Linked DNA regions of Homo sapiens: region 2 is linked to region 1. Evidence: promoter capture Hi-C in 16 types of primary human blood cells and fetal thymus (Javierre and others, 2016). All regions are on one chromosome and are shown on one strand. The core of a region is centred on a gene start or on the middle of the fragment in contact, and the rest is flanking DNA. Distances in the headings are between cores, read along the strand shown.

What was found. The method cuts DNA at HindIII sites, captures the fragments that hold promoters and counts their contacts. A CHiCAGO score of 5 or more calls a contact.
Region 2: a contact is called between a fragment that was not itself captured here and the fragment with the promoter of DHRS1 in region 1, in 17 of 17 cell types (naive CD8 T cells, total B cells, total CD8 T cells and 14 more). The highest score is 22.8, in naive CD8 T cells.

The regions. Positions count from the first base shown.
Region 1 is chr14:24,296,585-24,301,029 of GRCh38, forward strand. DHRS1 (dehydrogenase/reductase 1) reads right to left here and starts at 3,196. Exons shown (of 9, transcript NM_001136050.3): 1 at 2,997-3,196; 2 at 2,373-2,546; 3 at 154-297; 4 at 1-4. The coding sequence starts at 2,522. It overlaps NOP9 (NOP9 nucleolar protein), which reads left to right and starts at 3,266. Exons shown (of 10, transcript NM_174913.3): 1 at 3,266-3,617; 2 at 3,824-4,273. The coding sequence starts at 3,371. RefSeq lists an enhancer at 1,750-2,540. The HindIII fragment of the contact is 3,784 bases long and covers 1-3,337 here.
Region 2 is chr14:24,220,309-24,224,578 of GRCh38, forward strand. All of the region lies in intron 1 of NEDD8-MDP1 (NEDD8-MDP1 readthrough), which reads right to left. The region is part of intron 1 of NEDD8 (NEDD8 ubiquitin like modifier); the gene reads right to left. Among named protein-coding and RNA genes, the nearest start is that of MDP1, 6.4 kb to the left of the region's middle. The HindIII fragment of the contact is 1,322 bases long and covers 766-2,087 here.

The DNA of each region.
Region 1 (4,445 bases), core at 1,946-4,445:
TCGTCTGGAAGGCACAGGGAGGGTGATGAATGATCTGAAGGTAGGGAGGTGTGAGGGGCTGGGTAATGGAAGGGACAATGAGTGGGGATGAAGATGCAGGGGTCTGAGGGGGAGGTCAGAAATGTGGAGTTGGGAACAAAGTTCAAAGGGTACCTGGACCCCTGCATAAGCATTGTTGACCAGCACATCTAGACGCCCTTGCTGTTCCCGATCCACTTGCTCAAACAGGCTTCGCACTTCACTCTCCTGGCTTGAATCGCACACCACAGGCACACATTGGCCCCCGAGGGATTGTGCCTGGAGTAGGACAGGGGATATGAGCTCACATTCACACATGGGTGTGAGTCATGACAAAACTCCCCAACCAAAGTGGGCTTGAGAACTGAGAAGACAATCAATCCTAGGAGAGCCTGCTGCAGAGGCAACATGGCAGGCAACGCTGCCCTCTGGTGTCTGTTTGAGTAGTTTCAGGAATGATAGGCCTCCCCACCACAGAGCAAGGTGAATTGCAATGTAAGTTTTAATAATCTACAAACATTTACTGAGGCCCACCATGTGCACAGCATTGTACTTTGCAAGTAGAGGGTAAGAACAAGTGAGGCATGGAGTCTGCTCTTGAGAAATGAGTAAGCATCCTTTTCCTTGTTGTGGTCATTTCCATCTCTCATGCCCTTAGCTCCCACCCTACACTACTCACCTAAAACCTCTACTCAGTCCCAGTTGTCTTACCCTCACTCCACCAATGCTCCTGGTTGGTAATTGAAAAAACCAAAGCTATCAGCCATGAATGATTTCTACTTCCTGTTCTGTCTCACTCTCTACAAATGCCCACAAACCTCCAACTTCAGAGGAAGAAGAGTCCTTTATCTAAGAACAATCCTCCTATTCTCCAAATTTATGCTCTGGGTCCCCGCCTATTACCCTCCTTGCCTGAACTACTGCAATGCCTCCCAACGACTCACCTGACCTCCAGTCTGTCTGCCTTAAATTAATTCTTCATAATCCAGCCAGTACGACCTATCTAAAACACAAACCCTGTTCAAAATCTCCTAACTGGATCTCCATCTCTTAGAGGATGAAGCCTGAGTTCTCTATTAGGGTCTTCCAAGACCCACTCTTTCCTCTCCAGCCTCTCACTCACTACTCTTCCCTTGCATTATCTCACACATCTACTCTTTCACACAGCGTCCCTATGCTTATGGAGCTCCCTCTGCTGGAATGCTTTTCCTAACTTCCTTTACCTAATTCTTACCTTTCAAAACTCAGTTCAAGAACCACCTACCTCCTCCAGGACGCTTTCCCAAACCACTTTCCCTAGCCACTCTCCTATGTCATCTGGATGCTCCCCAACACCCCTAGAGTATTCTGTGCATATCTCCCTCTTATAATTTACCATATTCACATTACATTGAAGTGACTGCTTTCTGTACCTGACTTCCTGTTGGAATCTATCTTCATTTTTAATTAAAATTTTTTTTTTTAGAGACAGGGTCTCACTGTCACCAGGCTGGAGTGCAGTGGTGCAATCATAGCTCACTGCAACCTCGAACTCCTGGGCTCAAACGATCCTCCTGCCTCAGCCTCCCAAGTAGATGGTACTACAGGTGCAGGCCACTGTGCCTAGCTAATTATTTAAAAAATATTTTTTGTAGAGACTGGGTCTAGCTATGTTGCCCAGACTGGTCTCCAACTGCTGGCCTCAAGTGATCTTGCTGCCTTGGCCACCCAAAGTGCTGGGACTACAGGCATGAGCCACTGTACTCCACCATGGACTGAATCTTTGAAGAGCAGAAATTAGATTTTATTAGTCTTGGTAACTTCAGTGGTTTACCAATGCCTAGCAAATCATGGATACTCAAATATTTATTTAACTGAAGTCTAGTAAATAAGTAAAAAATGTGCAGTTCAATAAAGTCTTGCCTGAAATAGAGGAAAGCACAGGTCCACAACCCTTTAGTTGCAATTCCAAAATCTCTGCTCTCAAACAAAAAGTTTTTTACTTTTCTTTCTTTTCTTTTTTTTAATACAGTGTCTCGCTGTGTCGTCTAGACTGGAGTGCAGTGGTGTGATCATGGCTCAACTCCTAGGCTCAAGCGATCCTCCTGCCTCAGCCTCCGGAGTAGCTGCTGGGACTGCAGGAACGTGCCACCATGCCTGGCTCAAACACAAAGTTTTTTCATAAAACTCACTTGGCGGCAAAATTCTACCTTACCTGAAGTTATTTACGGGGTTTTTAATTTCCACTTTGAATAAATATTCACATCTTGTTGAGTAGTATTATAGTTTCAGGTAAGGGATTAGGAAAGGAGCTGTTAAGTGGAAGGGCTCTCTCGGGTGGTTTCTGCAACTGTGGTCCCAGAGGAAGCACTCACCTCCTGAGCAACAACGCGAAGGGTGTCCAGATGGCGGCCAGTGATGTAAACTGTGGCGCCTGCTTTGCAGAGCTGCAAGGCAATGCCACGGCCAATACCCCTGGAGGCACCAGTCACCACACACACTTGGCCATTCATGGGAGCTGCCATGACTCACAGGCAAAGGAGGCAGGTCTGTGGAAGCAAAGACTTACTCTGAGGGAAGCCTGGAGACTGTGTGTGTGTTGGGGCGAGGTTGGGGGGTAGGGGAGAACCTCACTAGGGCTAAGAGGAGGAGCCAAGGTAAGAATCCTTTGAGGGGAGAGGAGTCAGAGGCTGACAACTGGGTGCGGGCCTGAGGACAAGGCTGACTGTCTTTTGGGAGGCCCAGAGAGTGAAGAAGGGGCTGAGTGGGACTGTCCAGAGGTGGACAACTACTACAACCCTCTGAGTGTGGCTGCCTGGATATGGGAATCTGGCGCGGCAGCCCCTCGGGGCGCGTCCACGCAGAGTCCTGGGCTATCTGAAGCTCCGGTCCCTGGCCTGACCCAGTCCGGCTGAGCCAGAGGCGCAGCTTCCGGGCCGGGGATGAGCGCGAAGCCTGGAGATCCTAAGCCCTAAGTGGGACGAGCGTGCGCCGCTTACCTGCCACCTGCGCTGCCGCTGAGGTCTGCAGATTGCGGGGCTGCGGTGGAAGTCTGGGTTCTCGCCCAGATTGAGCCGGCGACGTGGAGGCAGTGTTCAAGGATTGATTCTGTAGTAGGACCCGGGGCGATTCTGTGCTGAGGTAGAGGGGCAGAGTCCCAGGCCAAAGTTAGAACCTGCGGATGGGGGCGGAGCGATCTGGGTGACACACCCACCCCGCCCGGCTGGGGCGGCGCGGAACTATGACGTAGTAGCTGCGTCAGGAGCGCGCCCGCGTTTCTAAACTTTGTCTGGATAAGGCGCACGCTTGGCGACGTCGAAGGTCCGTCCGCAGTTAAGGAAGCTTTTGCAGCCGGACAGGTCGCGAAGCACACATGGGGCAGGGTCCGCGCTCTCCACACAAGGTGGGGCGCCGGTTCCCAGCTGGTGGCAAACGGGGGCGCGGGGCCAAGGGGTCGGGGCGCCCCTTACCAGGCCGTAAGCGGCAACCCTGGCCGCCTCCGGATGGGCGCTCGGAGCCGGCTCCAGATTCGCACCCGCACCTGAGCCCGGAAGCTCTGGGATATTTCCGCCGGGCGCTGTCAGCATTGAAAGAGGCTCCCGAGACTGGGGAAGAACGAGGTAGGCAGCAACTTCGGGGTTTAGACCAAGAGCATCAAATCCAGGGCAGGCAAGGAAACTTTCTAGGGTCGGCAGGGCGTGGGGACTTAGTTTCATTTCCCATGTCCTCTTCCTCGGCCTCCGACCCACGACCCTTGGTTAAGCGAGGGTACATAACTGTATTCTCTACTAAGTCTCTTCAAAGTGTGTCTTTCTTCCCTTTTCAGATCTGATGGTGCACAATATAATGAAGGAAGTAGAGACTCAGGCCCTAGCTTTGTCCACGAACAGGACTGGCAGTGAGATGCTGCAGGAACTGTTGGGATTCAGTCCCTTGAAACCGCTTTGTCGCGTGTGGGCTGCTCTGCGCTCTAACTTGCGCACTGTGGCCTGTCACCGATGCGGGGTCCATGTATTACAAAGTGCTTTGCTACAGCTCCCTCGATTGCTGGGGAGTGCTGCAGAGGAGGAGGAGGAGGAGGAGGAGGATGGAAAGGATGGTCCCACGGAGACCCTGGAGGAGCTGGTCCTGGGACTAGCCGCTGAGGTGTGTGATGATTTTCTTGTCTACTGTGGAGACACACATGGCAGCTTCGTGGTCAGAACTCTGCTTCAGGTGTTAGGAGGGACTATTCTGGAGTCTGAGAGAGCCAGGCCCCGTGGTTCCCAATCATCTGGTAAGTATTACAAGAGGAAAGTGGACCTAGGGGGAAGAAGAATTTAGAAAGTTCAGAATGAGACAGTAAACAGAAGAGTAAGTCTTCATGGGGGAGCTTGACCGGGAAGAATTAGCTTGACCTGTCCTAATCTGAACAGGGCTTAGCAAGCCAAAGATTAGTGTGTGCGGAG
Region 2 (4,270 bases), core at 177-2,676, 78 kb before region 1:
GAAAACTATTTTTTTCCTTTTATTTTTTTAAGAGACAGGGTCTCACTGTATCAAGCAGGCTGGAGTTCAGTGGTGTGATCCTGGCTCACTGCAGCCTTGACCTCCTGGGTTCAAACAACCCTCCCACCTCAGCCTCCTAAGTAGCAAGGACTACAGGGTGTGTGCACCACCACACTCAGCTATTTTTAAGATTTTTTTGTAGAGACGAGTTCTGTGTTGCTCAGGCTGGTTTCAAACTCATGGGCTCAAGTGATCCTCCTGCCTCGGCCTCCCAAAGAGCTGGGATTACAGGCATGAGCCACCTTGCCCAGCCATTGAACACTTTCTAAGGGTCAGTAACTATGATCAGCATCTTACATGCATCACATTTAATCCTCCCAGTATTTATGAGATATGGACTATTACTATTTCCATTTTATAGATGAGAAAAATAAGCCTTAGGTTAAAAACACATCTACGCAATCAAAAGTAGAGATTGGATCCAGATTCCCTGGTCCCAGAGCCTGTGCTTTTATTTCTGTACTCCGTCCTACCTGAGTCTGGCTGGTCTAGTATTGGGACCCAATGTACACTCCTATAGTAGCTCACAAAATAACATATGGTTTCTCCTTATGGTATTCACATAGAACAGCACGAAACAAGAACTCAGAAAATTTCCCAACAAGGAGAATGATTTAGTACTAGTATGTTTCCAAAAATACAAGAACAATTCCTTTGGATTAACCTGTTTGGATATGAAAGAATAAATTACAGCAGTGATTCTCAAGCTTCTACCCTAACCTATGCTGGTCTGTGTGAAAATTTTCAGCAGCCTATGGTAAAATGAGAAAAGCAGTGTTAAAAGTGAAATTTTCATGAAACTAAATATATTCAGGTGTTAATGTCCTTTCAGAGAATGGTGGTGACAATTTGTGGTAACTTTAAAAAGACAAAATAAAAAGTTTGTAATTCTGTGTTGTCCACAAATTATTTCACTTTCTTTTTTTTTTTTTTTGAGACGGGGTCTCAGTCTCACCCGGATGGAGTGCAATGGTGCAATCATGGCTCACCGCAGCCTCGACATACTGGGCTCAGGTGATCCCCACCTCAGCCTCTTGAGTAGCTGGCATCACAGGCGGGCACCACCACGCCTGACTACATTTTGTATTTTTAGTAGAGATGGGGTTTTGCCATGTTGCCCAGGCTGGTCTCGAACTCCTGACCTCAAGTGATCCACCTGCCTCAGCCTCCCATAGTGCTGGGATTATAGGCATGAGCCACCGTGCCTGGCCGATAATACAAATTTTTATTTATTTATTTATTTTGAGATGGAGTTTTACTCTTGCTGCCCAGGCTGGAGTGCAACGGCACAATCTCAGCTCACCCTGCAACCTCTGCCTCCCAGGTTCAAGCAATTCTCCTATCTCAGCCTCCCAAGTAGCTGGGACTACAGGCATGCACCACCACACCTGGCTAATTTTGTATTTTTAGTAGAGAAGGGTTTCTCCATATTGGTCAGGCTGGTCTTGAACTCCCGACCTCAGGTGATCTGCCTGCCTCGGCCTCCCAAAGTGCTGGGATTATAGATGTGGGCCACCGCACCCGACCACAAATTTTTAAAGAGTGAAAAAAGACTCTCAGAGAAGACCTAGAGCTGCTCTCCCAAGAGCAAAATGCTTGGACCTTATATTTTTAAAAAGGATTATTGGTTTGTAAATTCTAAAAGTCTAGAGCTGGCCCTTTGTTTCTGAAATCGACTGTAGAGGCCCATAAATATATCTAGAGAGCAATTTGGCAATATGGTGTCCCAGCAACAATACTTCCAGGAAAATACTCATGACTATGTCCAAAAGTATACCTACAACAATGGTTATTGCAACCTTTTGATACTGTAAAATTAGAAACACAATCTAAATATCAAACAGTTGAGGGTTAAATAAATTATGGTACAATCATAGAAAAAAAATTACAAATCCCTCAAACAATGTTTAGGATAACTATTTGTAATATATTAACAATATGCTGATAATTTAACAAAAAAGTTATAGTATATAGAGTATAATTAAAATTTTGTAAAAACAACACATGCATCTATATGCTCTCCAAAAAGCTTGGAAGGGTATATACAGTATATTAATGCTTTAACTTGAGCAGTGGAATTATGGGTGATTTTAATTACATTATTATGCTTTTCTGTATTTTCCATTTTTTATACCACAAATGTGAATATGCTGTAATGAGAACAAATTATTTAAAAAACAATGTCCTTGATAAGGGTAAGATTTTGTAAAGCAGCACTGCCTTGTAGAAATATAATACAAGCCATACATGCAATTTTTAAATTTACTAGTAGCCATATTGTAAAAGTTCTTTAAGAGGTAAAATTTTAATATTTTTAAACCCAACATAGCCAAAATATTATTCACATGTAATCAATATAAAAATTAATATATTTTATGTTTTTTCTAACCAAATCCTAAAAATCCTGTATTTCATATTTACATCACATGTAGAGATGGGGCTGGGTGCGGTGGCTCACACCTGTAATCCTAGCACTTTAGGAGGCCGAGGGGGCGGATCACGAGGTCAGGAGTTTGAGACCAGCCTGGCCAACACAGTGAAACCCCATCTCTACTAAAAATACAAAGATTAGTTGGGCATGGTGGTGGGCGCCTGTAGTCCCAGCTACTGGGGAGGCTGAGGCAGGAGAATCGCCTGAACCCAGGAGGCGGAGGTTACGGTGAGCTGAGATCATGCCACTGCACTCCAGCCTGGGCAACAGAGCAAGACTGCATTTCAAAAAAAAAAAAAAAAAAAAAAATAGAGATGGTAGGCTGGGCATGGTAGCATATGCCTGTAATCTCAACACTTTGGGAAGGGGATGTGGGAGTACTGCTTGAGGCTTGGAGTTTTGAGACCAGCCTGGGCAACATAGTGAGATCCCCATCTCTACAATAAAATTAGCCAGGCATAGTGGCACAGGCCTGTAGTCCCAGCAACTGGGTACTCAGAAGGCTGAGGCAAGACTGCCCAAGCCCAGGAGTTCAATGCCGTAGTGGGCTGATTGTGCCACTGCACTCCAGCTTGGGTGACAGAGGGAGACCCTATCTCCAAAAAAAACCCAGAAAAACAAAAAAATTCAAATGGTAAATTTTCATCTGAAATACTTGACATATATTTAAGTTTCATAATTTACAATAGAAAAAGTAGATTTATACACCCAACTTGTTCTAAACATACTTAAAAGTTTTTTATATTTATTTATTTATTTATTTATTTGAGATGGAGTCTTGCTCTGTGTCCCAGCCTGGAACACAGTGGAGTAATCATGGCTCACTGCAGCCTCCAACTCCTGGGCTGAAAGTATCATCCCACCTCAGCATTCTGAATAGCTGGGACTACAAGCACACACCACCATGCCTGGCTAATTCTTTTTTGGAAAAAAAAAAAAATTTTTTTTTTTTTTGAGGCAAGGTCTCAGTCTGTCACCCAGACTGGAGTGCTGTGGCATCATCTGGCTCACCACAACCTCCGCCTCCCAGGCTCAAGCAATTCTCCTGCCTCAGCCTCCCAAGTAGCTGGGGTTACAGCCGCGTGTCACTACGCCTGGCTAATTTTTGTATTTTGTATTTTTTATTATTTTTATTTTTATTTTTTTGAGACAGAGTCTCGCTCTGTCGCCCAGGCTGGAGTGCAGTAGCACGATCTCGGCTCACTGCAAGCTCCACCTCCCGGGTTCACGCCATTCTCCTGCCTCAGCCTCCAGAGTAGCTGGGACTACAGGCGCCCGCCACTACGCCCAGGCTAATTTTTTGTATTTTTTAGTAGAGACGGGTTTTCACTGTGTTAGCCAGGATGGTCTCGATCTCCTGACCTTGTGATCCGCCCGCCTCGGCCTCCCAGAGTGCTGGGATTACAGGCGTGAGCCACCGCGCCCAGCCAATTTTTGTATTTTTAGTAGAGATGGGGTTTCACCATGTTGGCCATGCTGGTCTCGAACTCCTGACCTCAAATGATCCACCCGCCTCGGCCTCCCAAAGTGTTGGGATTACAGGCATGAGCCACCATGCCCGGCCTGAAAATTGTTTTGTAGAGATGGGGTCTCGAAATGTTGTCCAGGCTGGTCTCAAACTTCTGGCCTCAAGTGATCTTCCCACCTCAGCCTCCTAACTCACTGGGATTACAGGTGTGAGCCACTGTACCCGGCTAAGTTTCAGTTTTTAAATTTAATTAAAATCAAGTACAATCAAAATTTCAAATCTTCAGTCTCTCTAGTTACATTTCAAGTGCT